Regions from separate parts of the Homo sapiens genome. Here all the other regions are linked to region 2. The links are contacts of gene promoters, found by promoter capture Hi-C in blood cells and fetal thymus (Javierre and others, 2016). All regions are on one chromosome and are shown on one strand. Each heading gives the region's core, a stretch centred on a gene start or on the middle of the fragment in contact. The rest is flanking DNA. Distances are from core to core; before and after follow the strand shown. Region 1 has its middle 13 kb from the start of MRGPRE. Region 2 holds the start of ZNF195 (zinc finger protein 195). Region 3 overlaps MRGPRE (MAS related GPR family member E).

Evidence for each region. The method cuts DNA at HindIII sites, captures the fragments that hold promoters and counts their contacts. A CHiCAGO score of 5 or more calls a contact.
Region 1: a fragment that was not itself captured here is called in contact with the fragment with the promoter of ZNF195 in region 2 in 2 of 17 cell types (erythroblasts and M1 macrophages); the score reaches 5.5 in erythroblasts.
Region 3: a fragment that was not itself captured here is called in contact with the fragment with the promoter of ZNF195 in region 2 in 1 of 17 cell types (erythroblasts); the score reaches 7.0 in erythroblasts.

What each region holds. Positions count from the first base shown.
Region 1 is chr11:3,242,803-3,247,223 of GRCh38, reverse strand. No RefSeq gene overlaps it. Among named protein-coding and RNA genes, the nearest start is that of MRGPRE, 13 kb to the right of the region's middle. The HindIII fragment of the contact is 5,416 bases long and covers 228-4,421 here.
Region 2 is chr11:3,377,858-3,382,432 of GRCh38, reverse strand. It overlaps ZNF195 (zinc finger protein 195), which reads left to right and starts at 3,287. Exons shown (of 6, transcript NM_001130520.3): 1 at 3,287-3,395. The coding sequence starts at 3,393. It also overlaps the pseudogene TSSC2. RefSeq lists enhancers at 3,040-3,334, 3,023-3,586 and a silencer at 3,512-3,581. The HindIII fragment of the contact is 5,109 bases long and covers 876-4,575 here.
Region 3 is chr11:3,225,354-3,229,832 of GRCh38, reverse strand. It overlaps MRGPRE (MAS related GPR family member E), which reads left to right. Exons shown (of 2, transcript NM_001039165.4): 2 at 973-4,479. The coding sequence starts at 1,034. The coding sequence ends at 1,972. Among named protein-coding and RNA genes, the nearest start is that of MRGPRE, 4.8 kb to the left of the region's middle. The HindIII fragment of the contact is 1,915 bases long and covers 816-2,730 here.

The DNA.
Region 1 (4,421 bases), core at 1,686-4,185, 130 kb after region 2:
CCTCCAAAAAATAAAGAATAGAGAACAAATAAAACCTTACTGAGCCCACCCCACCCACTGTAACTAGAAGACGGCAAACATCCAGACTTCAAAGTATATGTGAGTAGAAGGACAAGCACTGAGTCCTGGAGCACTCTCTCCTCTGGGCTCCTGGCCTTTGTCAACAGCAAGGCATGACGGGAAAATCTGTGTGGAAGAAAACAGCAAGCTAGCGATGAGCCTAAGCTTTATCTAAAACCACCACTAGCACTTCCACTGTTAAGTATGAAAATGCTGAAAAAATATACACTGTGTAAAACAAAATAAAAACTTAAGACCTCCTGTTCTCAGCCAAAGCCATTCATTCTAAAGAAAACCTGAAACATAAGTTGAGGCCATGATGACAGTGGATGGTCAGACATGCCTCATGCCTTCCTCCCTTTGGAATTCAGGCACAGCTGTCCAAATTCCATTGTTTGGACCAGCATTCACATTAAAACAGAGACCTTAAGGCCCACAAAACAGATTCTGTAGCCATAAGATACCAACATGAGATAGCAGACCCTGATAGAAATCAAAGTATTTTACCCCTTATCTTAACCCAGGCATCCCTGTCTATTGATTCCAGGTCTTTAGATAATAACTCTTTTAACCAGTTGCCAATCAGAAAATCTTTGAATCCACCTATGACCTGGAAGCCTCTTCTTCAAGTTGTCCTGCCTTTCCAGATTGAACCAATGTACATCTTACATGTACTGATTGATGTCTTCTGTCTCCCTAAAATGTATAAAATCAAGCTGTAGCCCAGCCACCCTAAGCACATGTTCTTGGGATCTCCTGAGGCTGTGTCGTGGGCCATTGGTCACTTATATTTGACTCAGAATAAATCTGTTAAAATATTTTACAGAGTTTGACTCTTCTCATTGACAGTAATTGGCACCCTACCCGTGGGGTCTCAGAGACGACTCAGAATCCCAGAGGAGTTGTCTGAACCCAGAGCTAAGGTACCAGCAGGGGCCCATTGAAATCTCTCCCAATCTCGAACTTCTCCTCCAGTGGAACTGGTTAGTCCTCCTGAGCCCTGGACCTCCCATTTGCTTGATGGTCCTTGGTTTATTCTGAGCTGGTGTTTTTTTGTTTTTATTTTTGTTATTTTATCCAAGGAAGTTGTTGTTTAGGATCCTAATTTTGGTTCAGAGGTACATTCTAAAGAGTATTCTCCATTGCCTTCTTCTAAAGACAAGGGGAACAACCCCCTTTCAGGCACCACGTTTTGGTTTTGTTTAGGATCCTAATTCTAGTTCAGAGGTGCATTCTAAAGCTGTGGTCCCCAACTTTTTTGTCACCAGGGACTGGTTTCATGGAAGACGATTTTTCCATGGACCAGGGAGGGGGGATGGTTTCAAGATTATTCAAGTGCATTACATTTATTGTGTACTTTATTTCTAGTATTATTACATTGTAATATATAATGAAATAATTATACAACTCACCCATAATGTGGACCCAGTGGGAGCCCTGAGCTTGTTTTCCTGCAACTAGAAGGTCCTGTCTGGGAGTGGTGGGAGACAGTGACAGATCATCAGGCATCAGATTCTCATAAGGAACATGCAACCTAGATCCCTCATATGCACAGTTGACAATAGGGTTCGAGCTCCTATGAGAATTTAATGTCATTGCTGATCTGACAGGAGGCAGTGCTCGGGCAGTAATGTGAGCAATGGGGAGTGGTTGTAAATACAGATGAAGCTCCGCTCACTTGCCCACCACTCACCTTCTGTGGTATGGCCTGGTTCCTAACAGGCCATGGTCTGTGGCCCAGGGTTTGGGGACCCCTATTTTAAAGGGTCTTCTCATCTAAGAATGAGGAAAGACAAGGAAAACAACCCCCTTTTGGGCATTCCATTTGGTTTTATGGTGCTTGCTTTTACTTGCAAGTGTTTGTGTAAGTGGAAAATTTTGAGAGCATGCCAGGTTTTCTAGTACTCCCACTGGTTACATATTATGGTCTGTTTTGCACATTTTAAACTGATGCACAAGTACATCAAGGAAAAATTCAGACCCCCAAAGGTTGAGCTGCAACTAAGAGTTCCTAAGGTCTCTATTTCTCTATTTTACTTTCTGCCTGCTTTAAATCTGCTGTTACTTTTCTACTAAGATAAAAACCACTGTTTGGATCCAATCATGTTTGTTTTTTGTTTTTGTTTTTATTTGGTAAACTGATAAGTTTGTATTGATATCTCATGGTTAGAGTTCTGAAGTAAAAGTTAGAGGATCTTTGTATGAGTGTGTATGTGTGTGTTTATATGTATGTACATGTATTTTGTTATGTGTTGTGGCCATAAGGTAACAAATTGGCTTAAAGTTAAGGAGTACTCATAAATTAAGTAAATAAACCCAAATGCTTTTCAAGTTCACATGACTTAAGTAAAATATTTAATAAATAAGCTGACTTTGACATTATTGGTAAAATAAAATTAGAAATGTCTTCAGAATTACTGATATACATTATCATTTAGATTTATTGGTCTAGTAGTCCTATATTTATTTCTGCTAGGTATTATAAGGTGTCAAGATTGGGCATGAAGGTTATAAAACTATAAACCCAGCCTCAAACATAATTATCTTTGTGTAATTATCTTTGTAGGTGGGTGGATGGCTTAAATCCAGGAGTTTTAGACCAGCCTGGCCAACATGGTAGAACCCTCTCTACTAAAAAATAATAATAATAATAATAATAATAATAATACAAAAAAAATTAGCCAGGCATGGTGGCTATACAAAAAATATAATACAAAAAAAATTAGCCAGGCACCTGTAATCCCAGCTACTTGGGAGGCTGAGGCATGAAAATCACTTTAATCTGGGAGGTGGAGGTTGCAGTGAGCCGAGATTGTGCCACTGCACTACAGCCTAGGTGACAGAGTGAGATTCTGTCTCAAAAGAAAAAAGTTATAAATATGAAGAAGTATTTTTTGTTAAGAAAGATTTAAAGAAGAATAATTTTGCATGAGAAAAAATCTTGTATGGTAAATTTTTGTCCTGAAATAAAATGAGTGATTGTTTAAGAAAGAGCTGTGTGTAGTACAAACCAGAAAGTTCAAGCATGTCACGAAGGGTTTGTATAAGTCATAATAAGGCTCATAAAAAAATGAATTTATTTTTTTAAATGTTCTGTTATTGAGTTGGCCATAATTAAAAGGAAATTATTATAGTCTTTCTAGAAATTGGACTTTGATATTAAAAATACACTAATAATAAAACTAAAGAATTGGTTAGAACAAGATTTTCTTAAAATATTGATTTACTCCTAATGAGACTGCAAGTTTTTCATTTTTACATTCTATAAACTGTCTTTTTGAAATTCTTCAGATTGATGTCTCAGAAGTTCAACTTCCACTGTATCCCACTGCTTCAGCTCTTTCTCCCTTTGAGAACGCCTGGGTTGGTAACTCCTCTTCAACTTTTGTTGGCTCTTGTAACTTTTTTTTTAGTAGTAGTCTAAAGTAATTTAGATAAATTTAGAGAGAAATTTTGAAAATAGGTAAATAAAAAATCTTAAGGGGTGATTACAAAGGATCTGCCTCTGTTTATGTGCCTGGAGTGCCTATATGTGTATATGTGACATGTGAAAGTGATATTTCACTACCAACTTATATGAAAGAGCTCTAATCAGTTGGATTAAAGAAAAGTAAGTATTTATCAGACTAACAGAAACTAGCTAAGATGCCTTTTAGTTCACATGACTTTAGTAGTCTTTGGTAAGATGAATTTGATAAATTTAATCTCAAAATTCTCTCCAGTAGTCATATTATGTTAAATTAAGTAATCTTAGGTTTTTCACTGGGAATTTGGGTTATCAAGAGGTATAACAGCAGAAGACTAAGATGTGTTTTTGGTGAGGTTTATAAAAACATGAGGATATGGTTTTTCCTAAAGAAAATGTAATTTTTCCTAGTTTAGAGGCTATTTAAGGGTTGCCTTAAATAAAGTGATGCATGGCAGGTGAGCCCCAGAACTGGGGCTTATCCCAGGAGCATTCTTGGCTTCACCCTAGAAAGAATTCAAGGATGAGCTGGTGGTGTTAGACAGCAACTTTGATTGAAGCAGCAGTGCACAGCAGCAGAAAAGGTGCTGCTCCTTGCAGAGCAGGGACACCCCATAGGCTGTGTGCCCAGAGCAGAGCTCAGAGTTCTGCACTCACATTTATACCCACTTTTAATTACATGTGAGTTAAGCAGTAGTTATGTAGAAATTTCTAGGAAAAGGGTGGTAATTTCTGGGTCATCAGGTCATTGCCATGAAAAGGGGTGGTAACATCAGGTGTTGCCATCGCAATGGTAAACTGACATGGCACAGTGGCAGGCATGTCTTATGGAAACCAGCTTTTGCCTTGTCCCTGTTTTAGCTAGTCCTCAGTTTGGTCTGGTGACCAAGCCCCA
Region 2 (4,575 bases), core at 2,038-4,537:
TCCTGAATATACAAGAGAATTTGACGTTGTAGAACATTGTGCCTTTTAAAAAAATTGTGTTATTTAAAAATTTTCCCCACCCCCCCTTCTGCCCCCCAAGACTGCCAAATCCTTTTTGAACAAATATTAGGAAATGCTTATTATGTGCCAGATATGATTCATGGTCTTGGGGATATAGCAGAAAACAAATACCTGGGTATGAAATAATCTGTACAACAAACCCCCATGATGTGAGTTTACCAATATAACAAATCTGCACCTGTGTCCCTGAACGTAAAAGTAAAAAAAAAAAAAAAAAAAGCAGTGGTTTGGGGTCTGGCCCACACTCTAATCCCCCGGAGACCTTTAAGCCACAATGTTGCCCAGGCCCCACTCCAGTGATTCTCATTTTACTGGTCGGTGGCAGCTTGGGTTTGGGAAATTCTAAATGCCATCCCCCCAGGTGATTTTACATGTAGCAGGGGTGAGAACAATTGATTCAGGGTAAAGAATGCATTCACTGTAGCTGGTTTCCATGCATACTGATGGGATTTGCCACATAGGAGCTTGAAAAATAGCTCTTCCTTATTAAAAATCAACGGACACCTCCAAGATGTACTTAGCTGTTCGGATAAATTGCTGCAGAAAAAAAGTCTTCTCAGCAGATGTATCTTTAAGTCACTTGATTTCAGAGTAAGAGGTTGTTTCAGTCACAGTACTTATAGTCAGTGTTGAAAATTATGAACAGCCTACAAATACCAAAAAGGAATGAAAGCATTTACAGACATATAGGATACATTCTGTTTTAAAATTGCTCCTCTGTTGTTGGGCTCTGATTTCCTAAAGTCATCTATCAGCCATTTCCCTCAAATTATTCCATGTCCTTCCAAGAAGCTTCTGCAATTTCTCGAGGTGATTGATTATTCCCAATGGTAAACAGCACCATATGGGTCCAAATCTAAAAGGAATTCTGCCTCTATTGCAGAAGAGTTACTCTCCAGAAACTTGCAGGCCTTGGAAAGCTGTATGAGCAGTGCAGTCTATGCAGGAGTAAGGGCTGCAGAGCCAGGCAGAGCTGATCCTGAGTACCAGCCCAGCTGCTTAGCAGCTGTGGGACTTTGGGCAAGGTTCTTGACTTGGAGCAGTAATATAAACCTCTTCTGCAAGAAAGGGTAGAATAATACTGATTGCAGAAACAGCAGCAATGCTTCATTACTCTCTGTATCTATGCTCTTTATTGTGTGCTCTTACAGCTCCTCCCATCAAGAGGCCGAATGTGTTTCCCAAACTTTGCATCTGGCTGGCACTATTTTCTCTGGCTATAGAAAACTGTTGTATTAGTTTGTTTTCACACTGCTGATAAAGACATTCCTGAACATGCGAACAAAAAGAGGTTTAATTGGACTTACAGTTCCACATGGCTGGGGAGGCCTCAGAATCATGACGGGAGGCAAAAGGCACTTCTTTCGTGGTGGCGGCAAGAGAAAAATGAGGAGAAAGCAAAAGTGGAAACCCCTGATAAACCCATCAGATCTCGTGAGACTTATTCACTAACATGAGAATAGCATGAGAAAGACCCGCCCACATGACTCAATTACCCCCTTCCCCGGTCCCTCCCACAACACACGGGAATTCTGGGAGATACAATTCAAGTTGAGATTTGGCTGGGGACACAGCCAGACCGTATCAACTGCGAATATGACAGCTTTTGTGCTAGTTTTGGGCCTAGGCTCAAAAGGTCTTAAATGCTTCTGTGTTTCTCAGAACCTTGCTATCTTTATGAGATCAAGCTATCAGAACCTTGCTATCTTTATGAGATTAGCCAGCTGGAGGATGACATACCATGGTGGGGAGAAGGAAGGTGCCACTGTTGATAGCCATCTCATCCCCAGAAGCAGAGCCACCTAGTCAACCAGCAGCTGGCCATACATACATGAAGCAGTCCAGTTGTGACAAGAATAGCTCAGTTGAGTTCAGCGTGAATGGCTGATGAACTCAATCATGAGCTATTAAGTTTTCGGTGATTTGTTATGCAATAGCTAACTAATACATGCACCCAGGGCAGATAGGGTGCCAGGATTCAATGAAAGGTTGATTCCTAGTTACCTGCAAGAAGAAAGCACTTTATAGGTACTAATTCTCCCCCCTTATTTAAAGTTGGATCTTTTGTAAGATAATGTTCCGTCATACAGAAATGCATGTACACATGTATATATGTGATTGGTGCTTTTACTCACACAGCCCCCCAACCACGGGAAGAAACAGACAATCACAGCTTGATCATTAGGGCTAAGGCCAAATAGCAAGATAAGTCTGCCTCTAGTCTATTTCCTCCATATCTAAATGTTGGAGGTCAAGGCTATGGACAGATCTGAAGATGTGTTCTCTCCTCTTAGGGCCCCATTATTGATGGGCAGCAGTCCTCTACCCGTGGATATTTTCTTTTGCTTTCCCCTATGCTCTCTAGGATCACCATCTCGTCCACCCTTCGACCGGAGGAGAGATGTTTGTAGCAAGAGGCTGTTCCCTCACCTCTGGCTGAAAAGGGACTTTCAGACCCTCCACTTCCTGACATAAGGGAGGTTAGACCTCAGAGCTGCACTTTAGTGTGGCAGCTATTGATCATGTGTGGCTATTGAATAACAGGAATACAGCTGGTCTGAACTGAAATGTGCTGAAAAGGTAAAATACAGAGTGAGCTTCAAAGATTTAGTACCCCAAAATATATACTTCCTTACCAATTGTATATTGACCATAGAGGAAAATGGTTACATACTGGGTTAAATTATTACAATCAACTTCACCTGTTTCTTAGTACATTTTAAAACGTGGCTACTAGAAAATTTAAGATTCACACATGGCTTACATTTTAATTCTTAGAGGCTTGAATCCTTTTTGAAATTTCAGGCTGTCTGTTCAAAGGACCAAAAGCCAGGAAGGCCATAAAATATAAAAATTCAAAATGATTGTCTTTATTTTCTTCTTTCCATTGGTGAATAACATATATTTATTATTTATAAATAAACATAACCGCAGTCACAAGATGAAATGTAAATATCCTCTAGGTGGGGCCGGACAGCGCAGGCAGGAAGCCCCGCTCCAAAAGATCGCGGCCAGCACCTGTCCTTGCTGTCTCATTCGGCCCATTGTCTGATTACAGCTCCTGTCACTCAGGGCCTGAGGGGGCGGGGCGTGATGCCCTATCCAATCAGAGGAGTAGGGGCGGGGACTGTCCAATCAGGCACATGTCTGGAGAGGAGAGGACGGCTTCCGGGATCTAGCGGGGCCTTTGTCCCGACAGAGCTCCACTTCCTGTCCCCGCGGCTCTGTGTCCCCTGCTAGCCGTAGGTCGTGTGACCCGCAGGCACCGGGAGATCCAGAAGTGAAACGCCAGGCTCTCTGGAGGCCAGGAGATGGTGAGTGTAGGGGCCAGGCCTCCTGAGAGACAGGGAGGGGCGGACTGGAACCCGCGGTACCGGCTCGGGAGGAACCGGGCTGCCCGGGTGGGTTCCGGGCTCCGCGGACCCGAGGCCCCTCCAGCTGCACCATGGCGGCCGGGCCCCGCGCGCCCCGGCGCATCCCTGCAGAGCGGCTTTGGCCCAAGCCCAGAGCCATGTCCCCCCGGCAGCTCTTCGCCCGCAGACCCTCGTCTCCCCGAGTCAGGAAGGGAGAATCCCGACTCCGTGGGTGGTTTGTGCATAAGAGGATGATCTGTAGCCCGTGGGGGCCCCAGTCCCTCCTTTCTCTCGAGGGAGTCCTTGCAAAAATGTGAAAGAGTTTTATTTGAGCAAAGAGCGATTCATGAATGGCAGAGGACCCAACCATGTTTTTTGGGTTTGGAGGTCCCACCAGCCGGCCTTGAAGGAAAGGCTTTTATCAGGTGCATGAGGAAGCAAACCACATTCATTCATTAGTTCGGTACAGTTACGTCATCTCCTGATTTCAGCTATCTAGGCTGAAATTTTCTGGTCCTGTAATCAGAAGTTAATTAGAGGTTTGTGGTTGACGAAGCCTGAATTTTGTTTCTGCAAGATAGTCATTTGCAAGAAACGCATCTGAGTTAGATTTTTTTTTTTAACCTAAGAACCCAGGGCACTAGAGCCACCTCAGTCGGATTGCCTGCTATTTAATTATTATTATTTTTGAGATGGAGTCTCGCTCTGTCCCCCAGGCTGGAGTGCAGTGGCGCGATCTCGGCTCACTGCAACCTCTGCCTCCCGGGTTCAATCAATTCTCCTGCCTCAGCCTCCCGAGTAGCTGAGATTACAGTCCTGCACCACCACGCCCGGCTAATTTTTGTATTTTTAGTAGAGACGGGGTTTCACCATGTTGGCCAGGCTGGTCTTGAACTCCTGACCTCATGTGATCCGCCTGCCTTGGCCTCCCAAAGTGCTGGGATTACAGTCGTGAGCCACTGCGCCCAGCCTGGACGGCACTTTTTAAGAGATTTGTTTTCTGTTTGTAATCATTCCACGTGACAGGAAAGCAGAGAATCATCCCCTGACGCTATTGTAAAAAGTCTTTGTGCCTCTCCTCCTTTTTATTTTCCCTAGGCACAGACACCTTACCAGAATGTCTTTGGTTTGAGGTTCCACT
Region 3 (4,479 bases), core at 524-3,023, 150 kb after region 2:
CAACGTTGAGCAGGATGCAGCCTCCTCATGTGCCCCCTACCCTGCAGAGGGCTGGAGTCCTGCTGTAGGACAGCAGGGACATGGCCAGGGGAAAGGGAGTTTTCCTGTGGCCCTGATGTGGCTGCATGGTGTGACCAAGCTGGAGGGCTGGGGACTGGGAGCCCACTGGCAAACAACCCCTCATGGATGTCAAGGAAAGGCCTCAAAGAGTTGAGGGCTGCTTTAAGATGATGACGAAAAGCCCCACAGCCACTGTAAGCTGTCCCTCTGTGGTCACACCACTCATTAGACATGGGCGGTGCCTCCTGCTCTGCCTATGACTTTAAAATAAGTCATATTTTATTCTTTGGGAGTCCAAGGCAGGCGGATCACGAGGTCAGGAGTTCGAGACCAGCCTGGCCAATATGGTGAAACCCTGTCTCTACTAAAAATGCAATAAATTAGCTGGGCATGGTGATGCACGCCTGTAATCCCAGCTCTTCGGGAGGCTGAGACAGGAGAATCACTTGAACCCGGGAGGCAGAGGTTGCAGTGAGCCGAGATGGTGCCATTGCACTCTAGCCTGGGGCAACAGAGCCAGACTCCATCTCCAAAAAAAAAAAAAAAAAAAAAAAAAAAAAGCCCATTCTGAGGATCAAGGCACCACTAGCAACAGGGAGCCCCATGGGTCTCAGACCCTCTCCCCACATCTCCTGGTCCCTGCCCCCACCTGGCCTACAGGGACCAGCCCCACGGAAGGCTCTTGAGGCCAGGTAACCATGGGGAGGGGAGGAATGGGGACACCTTCCTCCTGAGTGTCTTAGGGAAGAGAAGCTTAGGTCAGGTGGCTGAGGGTGGAAATGAGAGAGGGGTCTTCTCCTGGAGGGTCTCACCATTCCCTTGGTCACCCACCCAACTCTCATCTCCCCTGATGTGGGGAGGAGCAGGGGGCATGGATTCCTGAGCCCCAGACTCAACTGTTGTGGTTTACAGGGGCATCAGGAGAGAGAGCGAGCAGAACACACTCCTGCAGCATCCCCTGGCCCCCCGCCCCATGATGGAGCCCAGAGAAGCTGGACAGCACGTGGGGGCCGCCAACGGCGCCCAGGAGGATGTGGCCTTCAACCTCATCATCCTGTCCCTCACCGAGGGGCTCGGCCTCGGTGGGCTGCTGGGGAATGGGGCAGTCCTCTGGCTGCTCAGCTCCAATGTCTACAGAAACCCCTTCGCCATCTACCTCCTGGACGTGGCCTGCGCGGATCTCATCTTCCTTGGCTGCCACATGGTGGCCATCGTCCCCGACTTGCTGCAAGGCCGGCTGGACTTCCCGGGCTTCGTGCAGACCAGCCTGGCAACGCTGCGCTTCTTCTGCTACATCGTGGGCCTGAGTCTCCTGGCGGCCGTCAGCGTGGAGCAGTGCCTGGCCGCCCTCTTCCCAGCCTGGTACTCGTGCCGCCGCCCACGCCACCTGACCACCTGTGTGTGCGCCCTCACCTGGGCCCTCTGCCTGCTGCTGCACCTGCTGCTCAGCGGCGCCTGCACCCAGTTCTTCGGGGAGCCCAGCCGCCACTTGTGCCGGACGCTGTGGCTGGTGGCAGCGGTGCTGCTGGCTCTGCTGTGTTGCACCATGTGTGGGGCCAGCCTTATGCTGCTGCTGCGGGTGGAGCGAGGCCCCCAGCGGCCCCCACCCCGGGGCTTCCCTGGGCTCATCCTCCTCACCGTCCTCCTCTTCCTCTTCTGCGGCCTGCCCTTCGGCATCTACTGGCTGTCCCGGAACCTGCTCTGGTACATCCCCCACTACTTCTACCACTTCAGCTTCCTCATGGCCGCCGTGCACTGCGCGGCCAAGCCCGTCGTCTACTTCTGCCTGGGCAGTGCCCAGGGCCGCAGGCTGCCCCTCCGGCTGGTCCTCCAGCGAGCGCTGGGAGACGAGGCTGAGCTGGGGGCCGTCAGGGAGACCTCCCGCCGGGGCCTGGTGGACATAGCAGCCTGAGCCCTGGGGCCCCCGACCCCAGCTGCAGCCCCCGTGAGGCAAGAGGGTGACTTGGGGAAGGTGGTGGGGTCAGAGGCTGGGGCCAGCCGGACCTGGAGGAGGCCTTGGTGGGTGACCCGGTCATGTGCTGTCAAAGTTGTGACCCTTGGTCTGGAGCATGAGGCTCCCCTGGGAGGCAGCTGGAAAGGCAAGGTCTCTACATGCCCAGGCAGGCGGGCCGGGTCTCTGGGGAGAAGGCCGAGGAACGTGCATTTTTGGGAAACCTCCCCAACGGTTCACGCACTGGCACTCGAGAGCTGCTGCTGCTACCCATTCCCTGCTCAGCTGCAGTGAGGAGACCCCGGAAAGCAAGGAAGCAAGGCCAGACGCCAGGTGAGGGGCAGGTCCAGGCCTTTCCGCAGGCCACCTCCCCTCCCACTCCAGCTTCCTCAATGCTGCAGGTGCACCCACAGATAACACAACCATCCCCTCAGCTCGCCTTGTGCCCGCTGTGGAAGCTAAATTGACCCTAAAATGGAAGACTGCCCAAAACTTGACCCCCTCCCCGTCCTTGATCATCAGCCAGTTGCTCAAGGCCGTGCACCTCAGACCGGGACGATGCAACCCTCACTCGGAGCTTCAGAAAAGCCGGCCCCATGGGTGTCCCTGGATATTAGGAGGGTGCACCCTGGGTGGGTGGAGAGGCTTCTTACAGCCCCACCCAGCAGCCTGCAGCCCTGTCTCCCCACAGGACCCAGGTCTTCAGCAACCAGAAAGCTTCACACCGGCCCCATCCAAGGCAGTTCACCCGCCTCTGTCCTGAGCAAGTCCCGCTCCAGAGGATCCCTCTGAGGAAGGAACCCAGGCTTCACCCCTCAACAGGTTTCCGAGCTTCCGCTGAGTGCCAGGCCTGGCTGCCATCCAGGAGCATGTGCCAGGGGTGCTAGAGTGGGGGCTTTGGAGCCCACAGCCTGGGCTGAGCCCCGCTAGCCACCCCACTGTGCTGCCAAGGCCATCTCTGAACATCCCTACGCCTCTGTTTGCTGGTCTGTAAAATATGAGAACCCAGTGCTTTGAGGCCTGTCCAGCCTCTCGTGAGCCCAAGAGAAATGTCTGTCGATTCTACTGCCACCAACGCCACACATCCAAGTCCACAGTGCAATTCTTAGCCACAGACCAAGGCATCTGAGAGTGTTTTCTTTGATTTCTGACTCCGGCCTCCATGGCTGGTGATGGAAGGACATTCCCTCTGGACCATGACTGAACCAGCCCCTCTTGAGTCTGGGTGTGAGTCGCAGATCCCTGGTCAGCACCCTGGAATCCGGCTGCACCGGGCCCCTCCCAGCCCACACAGTGCGTTCACCTCAGGCTCCCGCACGTGCCCAGCAGGCCTGGGTCCAGGTATCCCTTGAGACTGGGAGCCCCAGGGGCTGGACCCACCTCTCCTAGAGCACCTCCAGCCCCCACTTGGGGACTTACCTCCTCCCAAATTATCTCCAGCCCAGGATCTGCACAGGGCCCTCTCTCCCCACCTCCAGGACGTGATTAGCAACTTCAGTTCCTCAGCTGGAGAAACAAGAACAGAAAGGGAAGTGGCCTGTCCACAAATTCCACTTTCAGCCCCAGGACATAAACTTCCCCCAGAACAAGGAAGAACCAGGAGGAAAAGCACAGATTCATCTCACGGACATGACCTCACCGTGGACGTGTTCCCGGGGAATCCTCGTAATAATGTAGGAAGGTGCTCCCACTCTGCAGATGAGCCACCAAGGCTCCGAGGGGCTATGTGGCCGTTCAGGACCACAGGAAAGCTGCAAAGCCAGAAGGTGACTCCCAGCACCACCCTCCCACGCCACACGCTCCGCCTCACTGGACCAGGGCTGGCTCAGGTGTCCTCAGCCCCACACTGGCTCCCCCAACCCTGGCCCCATCCCCACGCAGACCCCTTTGCTGCATAAGGGTTCAGAGAGATTGCGGACCCTTAGAATGCTCACTTCTTCCCAGAGAGCCTGCTCTCAGCATCCAGGGGATTGGAGTGGCTCTAGATTCCTCCTTATTAGCCCCTTCTCGAGGAGTCCGGGAAATGTGGCCTCATCTGAGGTCTCCATGGAAACTGGGCCCAGCTCGTCCCCACTCTAGTAGCTGCTGTGGCAGCAGGTATATGGCCTGATGGCCCAGGATGCTGGTGGGGTATCCCCTTGGCCCCAGATGTGCCAGCTTGGCCTCCAGTTCTGTGGTCCTTGAGCCCTCAGGACATTAGGACCATGTGGGCTGGCCTCCAAACTGGAGGCTGAGCTTCCGTCCAGGCTCCCACCTGCCCCTGCCCAGCCTGCGCCTCCTCTGACCTCCCCCGCTGCACCTCCTCTTCTGCCCCCAGAGCCACAAGGCCCCACCAGGGACCCCTGGCTGCCCTAGACCCCACCCTGCAGGACCCTGGGGCCTCACTGCTCAAAGGCCACCTCCACCTGGGTCGCAGGCAAAGCTCCTCGGTCAGTGCCCAGCCCACCCCATCCACCCGCAACCCCGGG